Regions from separate parts of the Homo sapiens genome. Here region 2 is linked to region 1. The links are contacts of gene promoters, found by promoter capture Hi-C in blood cells and fetal thymus (Javierre and others, 2016). All regions are on one chromosome and are shown on one strand. The core of a region is centred on a gene start or on the middle of the fragment in contact, and the rest is flanking DNA. Distances in the headings are between cores, read along the strand shown.

Evidence for each region. The method cuts DNA at HindIII sites, captures the fragments that hold promoters and counts their contacts. A CHiCAGO score of 5 or more calls a contact.
Region 2: the fragment with the promoter of SERINC1 here is called in contact with the fragment with the promoter of NT5DC1 in region 1 in 1 of 17 cell types (activated CD4 T cells); the score reaches 6.4 in activated CD4 T cells.

The regions. Positions count from the first base shown.
Region 1 is chr6:116,098,184-116,103,090 of GRCh38, forward strand. It overlaps NT5DC1 (5'-nucleotidase domain containing 1), which reads left to right and starts at 2,670. Exons shown (of 12, transcript NM_152729.3): 1 at 2,670-2,840. The coding sequence starts at 2,748. It also overlaps a transcript of FRK not described here. RefSeq lists enhancers at 2,330-2,852, 2,853-3,373, 4,843-4,907 and a silencer at 2,486-2,745. The HindIII fragment of the contact is 3,203 bases long and covers 1,287-4,489 here.
Region 2 is chr6:122,468,787-122,473,693 of GRCh38, forward strand. It overlaps SERINC1 (serine incorporator 1), which reads right to left and starts at 3,021. Exons shown (of 10, transcript NM_020755.4): 1 at 2,913-3,021. The coding sequence starts at 2,951. It also overlaps a transcript of PKIB not described here. RefSeq lists enhancers at 2,671-3,070, 3,121-3,180. The HindIII fragment of the contact is 8,379 bases long and covers 1-4,907 here.

The sequences.
Region 1 (4,907 bases), core at 1,420-3,919:
CCACTGCAACCTCTGCCTCCCAGGTTCAAGCGATCCTCCCACCCCAGCCCCTACAACAGCTAGGACTATAGGTGCCTGCCACCATACCCTGCTAATTTTTGTATTTTTTCTAGAGATGGGTCTCGCTATGTTGCCCAAGCTGGTCTTGAACTCCTTACCTCAAGCGATCTGCCTACTTTGGCCTCCCAAAGTGCTGGGATTACAGGTGTGTGCCACGACGCCAGGCAGACAGCCGTGGTTTTGTGGCTCCTCACATGGCCTTTCTTGTGTGCTTGAAAACTCTGGTGCCCCTTCCTCTTCTTACAAGAATGCTAATCCTGTTGGATTAGGGCTCCACCCTTATGGCCTTATTTAACATTAATTACTTCCTTAAAGGCCCTATGTCAAATATAAACACATTGTGGGTTAGGTCTTCAACACATGAATGAGTGGGGGACAAAATTCAGTCCATGATACTCAAAGAAACAGAAATTAATTGGTATCTAAGTAGAAGACTGAACTTGTAGTTGATAATACAAGAGCTGTGGCATTTTATCAGTAAGTGTGATAAAAGTTTAATGTGCAGGGAAAATGAAATATCTTTATCCAAAAATAAGCCTTATGAAACAATTAAACTGAGTGTTTGTATTTAAACTCAGGGTTATGTAGGGAATGGGAGAAGAGAAGGGAACCATCCCCTATATTTCTGGAAGAGTCAGACTGAGGTTTGAGGTACAAAGGAAAGGTGAGTGGGGCTCAAGAAAGAGTACAAGCCTCTAGGATTGGATCATTTGCAAAATTCTCCCACAAAGTTTAAATGATGTGGACTCTCTAGCACAAGAACTGTTTGTGCAAACATGCAGAATATATATAATTTGTTAATCAGCAAGTACATAAGATTGTTGATGTGCATGTAATAGCCAGATCCAGTCCCAGGACCACTTGGTTATCGACCCAGGGGTCTTTTTCTCTTTAAGAGTGCCCTGGTTCCCTCTCTCCCCTTACCCCAAGTCAATTTCCTGTTCACAATTCAGCACACTCAAGAGGTTTTGTAAGGAGAAGTTTTTGCTAAGTCAACAAAAAACAATCCTTTTATACTCTTCCCTCTTACAATGAATGTACTAGTACATTTGTATTACTAAGGGAAGTCCCTAAAGTACCTAAAGCACCTACTCCCACATGAAACAAGATATTCCCCAAGGAAACATGTGCCCTTCAATGTGGCATGCACCTGGAAGTTTGACTTTGGTAGCATTCTATTGCAAGGTGCAGAGGAGAATGCCAAGGTCAATGCTCCAGGGCCAACAAGCTTTTTCCAGCCTCTCCAACAATCCAGCCTTTTCTCTTTTGGTTCACAGACATTGAAAACATGATTGTTGGACTCATCAGTGAACAGCTTAATCTTCTTGAAGATTCTTTACTTTTCCTATTCCAGAGAGATTTGTTTGGGGCTTTTAAGTGTTATAATGGAACAAGTTATCAATTTTATTCAAATGGGTCTACTAGGTATAAGTGTCCTCCTACTCAATTGTACTATCTATTGCACTAAATTAATCCTCTGATTGGTCTATTAGCCTCAGAAGGATTAGTATTTGAAAGGGTTAAATGCAGTTCTCAATCAATTATATTTTCATTATGTCACGACTATTGATTTGTCCCATTAGACACATTGTTCCTTTAAATTGAGAACTGAAGCAGTGTAAACATAATAGATTTGTATTTTCTTTTTAAAATGAGGTACTATGTAATAAAGATCTCAAAGTGCTAGTCCTTCACATCCGGAAATCAGGAAGAGAATTAAATGCCCTAAGGCATACATTGTATGTAATGGATTAACTTTCTCTGCATCTAAAATGGTAGTAGTTATACAGTTCTTGAGAGAATTAAGCAAATGTCACTCAAAACATTTTGTGCTCTATAAACCTTAAACCCGGTTTGCAAAAGTTTTTTGTAGTATGCTCTATATATTTCTATGAAGTTTCTGATGCCCTTTCATAAAAAATTCATTACAATAACAAAATAGGATTATCAAGTAATAACCAATATTGGTTTCCATAACAAGTATCATCTTGCAAAATGGTTCTTCACGATGTCTGATACATTTATTTTCTAACGCACTCCAGGGTATGAAATAGTGAAAGGTCTGTCTTCCACTTAACCACTTAGGAAACCAAGGAATATAAAGTTTTTGGTTTAAACCACTATCAAAGATCACGTGGGTGAAAAGACCTTCCAAATTGTAGGCTAACTGGGTCAGAGGGATATTAGCGGATGAATTTTTTCTATGATCTTACTATTCCTCACACAGGGGTAAAAGGTCAGGTCTAACCTCATGATCTCCTGGTTTCCGAGGCGCCCTGAGGCGATGGAGTGTCCCGGTTAATTTTGTGGTAGCCCTCGGGAAAGGCTACGTGCCTACAGGTCTCAGCTGTGCAGCAGCGGCACCGCTCCTGGACCCCTACTGCCTTCTGGGCTCCTAGGCTTGCGGAACAGATCAGGAGTCGCCGGCATTGGGGTACCAGGAGGACGCGAGCTGACTACCTGACTCCGGGCGGCGCAGGACGCCCGCCGCGCGAGGGGCGGGGGCTAAGCGTATCGAGGGGCGGTGCTCGAGGGCGCGGGAGGCGGGAGAGGCTGCCGCGCCGTGTGCCCTGGCAGCCGCAGCCCCGCCCCGCCGCGTCCGGCCCGGTCCTGTCCCGCAGCGTCCCGCCAGCCAGCTCCTTGCACCCTTCGCGGCCGAGGCGCTCCCTGGTGCTCCCCGCGCAGCCATGGCTCAGCACTTCTCCCTGGCCGCCTGCGACGTGGTCGGATTCGACCTGGACCACACTCTGTGTCGCTACAACCTGCCCGAGAGCGCCCCGGTGAGTGGCGCGGGCTCCGGGGCGCACTGCGCGCAACCTCCATGGCGGCTGGGGCTTGAGTTTCCTCCAGGTTTGGGCAACGGCGGACGCTGCCCGGGGCCTGCGGCGGCCGAGTCTTGCCGCAGAGCGCGGCCTCCAGCGGCGAGAAGGGGCGGAAGTGTGCAGCCTCCGCTCCGCGCCGGTGCCGTGGGGACCGGCACATTTACCTCAGCCATTAGCTAATGTTGAGAGGGATAGGGAAGAACGAAGGAGGGGCAAACTGCGCAAGACCGGGCTGGGGAATCGGTGATTTCTAGGGCCGAGGAGGGGCGGGGTCAGGGGGACTAGGGCTGTCCTTGAAGATCTCACGTCGTGGAACTTTCTCTGCATGTCTTTCTGGACACCAGCTGATTGTGGACACAGCCACTTGATTTGGTACTTGCATTTTTTTTGGCTGCATTTTTCTGTTTGCACGATCAACCACCCATCAGTGTTTAAACTGCAATCTGGGAGAGATGCGTAGTATATAGTGTAGTGTATTGAAAGGAACACTAGTTGAAAAGTCATTAAGATCTTAGCCCTAGTTTTACCTTCTATCAAGAGAAGAAAATACATATTTATTGCGCATCGACTACGTGCTCCGTGCACTTTGAATACATTCCAGTCCTACCAACAGTCTGCGAAGTTTGGGTCCTCACTGTGCCCTGAGGGAGGGGGACATGGAGTATGCATGCTTCCAGACCTGTACACTCAAATTAATTGCCCTCCCTCCACTATTCCTTTGGTTTCCCAATTCCCAAGGAAACTAATTTTGAAAAGTTACCAGATTTTTTTAGTCCAAGATCTAAGCATCCAGACAGAAAAAGAGCTGGTTATGAGTACAGTGGTGAAAGCGAGGACTCCTCAGCCAGACTGCCTAGCTTAGGACACCAGCTCCACTGTTACTAGCTCTGTGACTTCGAGGAAGTTACTTAACCTGTGCTGCTTCTCAGTTTCCCCATCTGTAAAATGGAGCTAATAATTGGATTTACCTCACAAGATTGTTGCAAGGATTAAATGAGTAAGAGATGTATAATGCTTAGAATAGTACCTTGGCAAAGACAAGTGTTTGCTTTTATGGTTACCACCCAAACTATTTGGAAACCTCACAGTTTATGGGTAGAACTCTAGATCACTGGTGCAGACATCAGCCAGGGTTGTGCCCCATTATGGGCACCCGCCAGTTCCTGCACCCACCAGTTCAGGTACACGTTAAAGGTCAAAAAAGAGTGGCTGCCCGAATTTCTCGTGTGTTTTCTATGCCCAGATGCTAAATTTTTTTTTAAATGTCCTTTTTCTGCTGTTACACTTTCCTGCTTTCTTACCTTACAGGTCTGGTTTCCTTAGTCACATTGAGAATTAAGAAGGCTTTTTTACTGCTTGATTCTTTGGCCACTGCTTCCCCTAGGTCTTTGATACATGTTTTCCTTCCCTCTGTGTCTTTCGAATCCTTCCTGGTTCACAGTTTTGTGTGTCTCCTCTTTAGTTACCTTCATTTGGAGGTAATATTGTTAAACCACTGTCATGTTAGAGCTAGTGTTGTCCATAGGTGATCATAAAATTTCAGAATATAAGATTCTCAAAGACAAGAGGTTTTTTTACTGCAAACCTGGAGAATAAGTGATGTTTAAAGCTTGAAAACAGTAACCTATTGAGTTTTGGATCATGTTTGGTGTGGAAATCTTTTTTATTTTAAGTCCCACAGTGTGCTGAGCACCATGCTAGAGCTGAGGATACAGAGATCAACACGCAGGCCTCCAGGCAGCCTTACACAGTAGGCAAAAATGCTGAAGAGTTAGTCTTGGTCCCTTGTGGTGGGTAGTATGACCTGGGTCTTGCTTCACGCTGCCAACAGTGCCTGGAGGGCCTCTTTGCTCTGCACAGAAGCTCTTCATCCCATCAGGCCTCATCTTAAACATCGTTCCCCTTAGGAAGTCTTTTTGGCCCTTAAAGTTTGCCCTTCCATTCTAAGCCCACCTTCAGTTTTCCACAAAACCCTTCATTCCTCATAGCACATGCTGCATGATATTAACACTTCCTGTTTACTTG
Region 2 (4,907 bases), core at 1,771-4,270, 6.4 Mb after region 1:
ACAAAAATTTAGGAGGTTGGCAAAAAATACGCACTCAGTAATCACTAGTTCTTAACGACTTAACTAAACTAAATATCTTGATAGGTATTGTATATAAGGCTCACCCATTCAAAAAAAAAATCAATTCTGTCTACTCACTAATACCAATGTTGAGACTGGGATGGGGAAAAGCATGTAAGTAGGTATTAGTGATTGGTAATGTTATAGTTATAGGATTAGTTGGTATGATGTTTATAATGTTTAAAGTAATTAACAATCAAAAAAAGAGACAACCATGCATGAATAAAAAATTATACTGCCATGAACCAAGGATTATGATCAATCTAATTCTAGGTCTCTTAGCAGCAAACAAAAAGTGAACAATTTAACACTCCAATTTCTGCTCAGTGGTATTACACATAATTTGTCTCTTTATAGTTCAGACATTTTCTACAATTATTTTATAAATAAGGAAAAAACTTTTACTAAATTTGATTAAGCCTGCAGAAACTTGTACTAATTAAGAATGAGGTTGGTTTGTTTTTAATTCTGGCTTACCTGATCTAATTTAATGATTTGAATGTTACTTTTTTTTTGTTCTGTTTTTTGTTTTTGTTTTTTTTTTTTTTGACACAGAGTCTCACTCTGTTGCCCAGGCTGGAGTGCAGTGGCGCCATCTTGGCTCACTGCAGCCTCCGCCTCCTGGGCTTAAGAGATTCTCCTGCCTCAGCCACCCGAGTGGGATTACAGGTGTGCGCCACCACATCCGGCTGATTTTTGTTTTTTTGTTTTGTTTTGTTTTGTTTTCTGAGATGGAGTCTTGCTCTGTTGCCCAGGCTGGAGTGCAGTGGCATGATCTCAGCTCACTGCAACCTCCGTCTCCCAGTTCAAGCAATTCTCCTGCCTCAGCCTCCCGAGTAGCTGGGACTACAGGCATGTGCCACCATACCCAGCTATTTTTTTTTGTATTTTTAGTAGAGACGGGGTTTCACCATATTGACCAGGCGGTCTCCCACTCCTGACATCAAGTGATCCATCCACCTCATCCTCCCAAGTGCTGGGATTACAGGCGTGAGCCACTGCAGCAGGCTCTGAGTGTTACTTTTGAAAAGCTGAATAAATTTTAATTTCATCAAAACCTCTAAGTAAATGAGCACATTAACTGTTAAGAATGTGGAAGAGATGGTCCCCTTCAATGACTATTGGCCTGCAGTAAAATCAAACAATTAATGAATAGAGACAGAGGCACAAGGAAGAAAAGGGAAAAAGATTACTGAAACTGCAAACAATAAAATAAATTCCAAACTGAGCACGGTAGCACCTGCCTGTAGTACCAGCTACCTGGGAGGCTGAGGTTACACTTAAGCCCAGCAGTTCCAGGCTGCAGTTCACTACGACCATCCCCTGCACTTCAGCCCGGCCAATACACTTAGACCCCCATCTCTAAAAAACTGCCTCACTGCTTCTACCTTTTTAATGTACTTCGCTATTAACACAGAAACTAAAAGGCAGGGTCAATTTTATCACGGACATTCTTCTAATCAATAAAGGTGGCGATCTATTTTGTAAAAGGGAAAACATGTATCTCATCTTTTAAATCTCTATTATATACAAAAAACTACAGCACGCCCACTTCATAACTGGACAAGATACGACATTACAAATTGAATTGCATAACATCTTCCAATAAAAAACCGATGAAAACAATCTTATATGATAATCAATTATCAGTTTTCAAAACTGTTTATCACACTAAATATGCCTCTTTTGTATAAAAGTCAATAATTAAACTCTCTAATATCTTGAGATAAAATATTCCAGGCTTCCGTGCAAGAAGAAATACCATATAATCAAAAGAACAGACTGGCTGGAGTAACAATCCCCACATTATTATTTGATTAAAATTCAACATTTTTAGTTCAAGACATATCAAAACCTTTAAGAGTATATATAACGGAATCATTTGGGAAGTCAGAAAAGCAATTGTTAGAAACAGAATTAACAAATTCCAGACTAAAGAAAAGTGATTTGAGTCCAAATACCTCGCCTAAAATTACAAATATCTTTATTAACTGCACTGCCAATGTTTTGCCTACTATTTTGGAGGGGGCAGAGATTATCTTAAATAAACTGAAATTTGTGCCACACGGACCAAAGTCTTGCCACTATACTGAAAATAGTTTTACTCTAACAACTCTTTAATGAAAATGCAATGTACAGCTAATTAAGCATGAAATTTCAGATGACACACGCATGTTTTGTGCCTAAAGACAAAATTGTCATTAGGCACAAGGCATGCGTGTGTCATCTGAAATTTCAATTTTAAGTTGAAATCTGAAATTGACACTTCAAACAGTTACGGCAGAGCTATGACTATTTGTTTCAAAAACAATATTACTACATTAGCATTACTGCCAGGCGGTTCCAAATGACGACAGGCACTTTTTAATCATAATCTGCGCCACTGAACAAAGAGGGCGACATGAATCCAGGAACGACAGTGCGGCAGTCTGAGGTCGCCAGGAAAGAGATGACAACAGAGTGGGTACCCCACCGAAGGAAAGGGGCAAAGACCTTTGTAGAGATGGCCTGCGCAGATACAAACAAAACCACGAAAAGGGACCTCAAAGAATGGGAGACAGCGTTCACGAAGCAGGGGTGGGGGAGGGGCCCTATTCTAGTTCTCTTCCTCAATTTGAGTCATCTTCCCATCGCCACTAAACCTTACGGCCAGTGATCAGTTCTTCGCAAGACCCAAAGCTCTGAAGCTGAGTCTGAGTGACGAGAGGAGACGGGAAGAAAACGGGGACAGAGAGGGCACTCCCTGTTGGGTGGGGCACCACATTCCCGCCGGGCTCACCCAGCCCCGGCTCGGATCGCCTTCTCTTTGGTCTCTCACACTAGCACCCCAGAGGCCGCAAAAAGCACCTTACCCAGCTCGCCATGGAGCACAGCCCCAGGACGCTCCCCATCTCCACAACGTCACAAGAGCAGCGGATACAGACAAGATGGAGACAGCTTCTTTCTCGCCTTTCCGAGATTATTTACTATCTGCGAGACACTTCCGGACGCACAGCGCAACCCGCCCCTCAGCCTCGCGTCACTTCCTTCCAGGCCTGGGTAGGATAAAACACGGAGCGCGCAGCGCTGAGACTGCGCATGCGCGTCACTAGACGACACGGCTGTCTTCTTTCCTGGAGAATTTCTCAAGGACTGCTGGCTGGAAACTTAACGGCTAATGTGGATCTGACCGTAGTTTGCCAAATTAAGAAAACGGTGTGAGCAAAACCCACCTTTACCTACCATGCACTTGCATTTGGGCATTAGTAGAGAACAGAGCTGAGGTGGTGGTTGACGTTTTGCCCTCCTTCATCTGAGGAACCTCTCTGCTTTTTAGGGGATTGCTTCCTCTTTCTCAGTCTTTGTCCGTCCTAACTCCACTTATTTCCCATTTTTCCCACGTTTGCATCCTGTTTTGCTCTTGCGTTTGCAACGTATTCCTGCAGCCCGCTGCCCGGAACAAGTTTTATTGGGATATTTATATTCATCTGTGTGCTTCAGTTTCTCTGTATCATTTCTGTTTGCTATTGACTTATATTTTAATTTCTTATGCTATTAAGATGTTACAAGAAATTTGCACGTTAAAATTATTTTTAATTAGTTAGATAAGACATTATCAAACTCAAACATTGATTTCGAATGTCATGAGCTGTTGAGGCATGTGGAACCCTTGCATATTAGGTGATGATGCACATCTGCAGGGAATGCATTCCTATAAAAGTTCCAGTTATTTTTTTAGAGTTATTTGTTCTTGAAAATATTCTGGGAAACAGCTCAAACTTGAAATAGTCATTCCCATAACTAATAATAAGAAAGTGTTGTAAAATCTACAAAAATTGCATGGGTCGAGGTGGGGTAAACACCTAAGAATCTGGAAGAATGTCAGAATCCCTACTCCTAGTTATTGTAACCACTAAGGGACAATCTTGCTTTATTCTTCTTTGCCTTATCTGTGGTTTTGTAGACCACTCTTAAAGCAAAGTATTATAATAGAGCATCCATAAGGTTTAAAGAATTGTGGAAATGCTTGTAATCCCAGAACTTTGGGAGGCTGAGGCAGGCGGGTCACAAGGCCAGGAGTTCAAGACCAGCCTGGCCAGCATGGTGAAACCCCATCTCTACTAAAAATACAAAAAATTAGCCGGGCATGGTGGCACGCGCATGTAATCCCAGCTACTCGGGAGGCGAGGCAGGAGAACTGCTTGAACCCGGGAGGCAGAGGTTGCAGTGAGCCGAGATTGGGCCACTGCACTCCAGCCTGGGCTGCAGAGCGAGACTCCGTCTCAAAAAAAAAGAATAGTGGAAATGGAAATTACAAACCTAACAATATTTTTAATTATGCTAAACTTAATACGTTATTTATGGGAGAAGAGAATCCTAGTATCTCAAGTCCTTAAACTTTTCAAAGTACCAGAGAAGGAGACAAAAAACACTTATATGTGAGTAACTTTAAGGTCGTAAAGAATATGTTTATTAGCCAAATGGAGAATGGGTCTCTTAAAATTTAAATTTGCACAGATTCTTGTCTCTTGCTCCATTTAAGAGGGTTTCTGAGATATTCATAAGTTCTTGCACTATTCAATAGAGTTTTTTCACCTGAGATATTCAGAGTTAAATACAAAAGTCATATTAATCTTTCTGGAATGTAACACTTGGCCTTGAAATACATTAAAAAAAATTTACTTTTATTTAACCTGTAGGCTATGTGGAGTGGAATTTGCTCACTTAAGTTATTATATATACAACATTAATTGGACACGACAGTATATATAGACTATTTTATTCGTTAGAAGAGTCTTCGACACCAGTCTCATTTTTCTCTTTGCCAACTATGAAAGAAAATTGAAATGATGACTTTTTCAAATTTC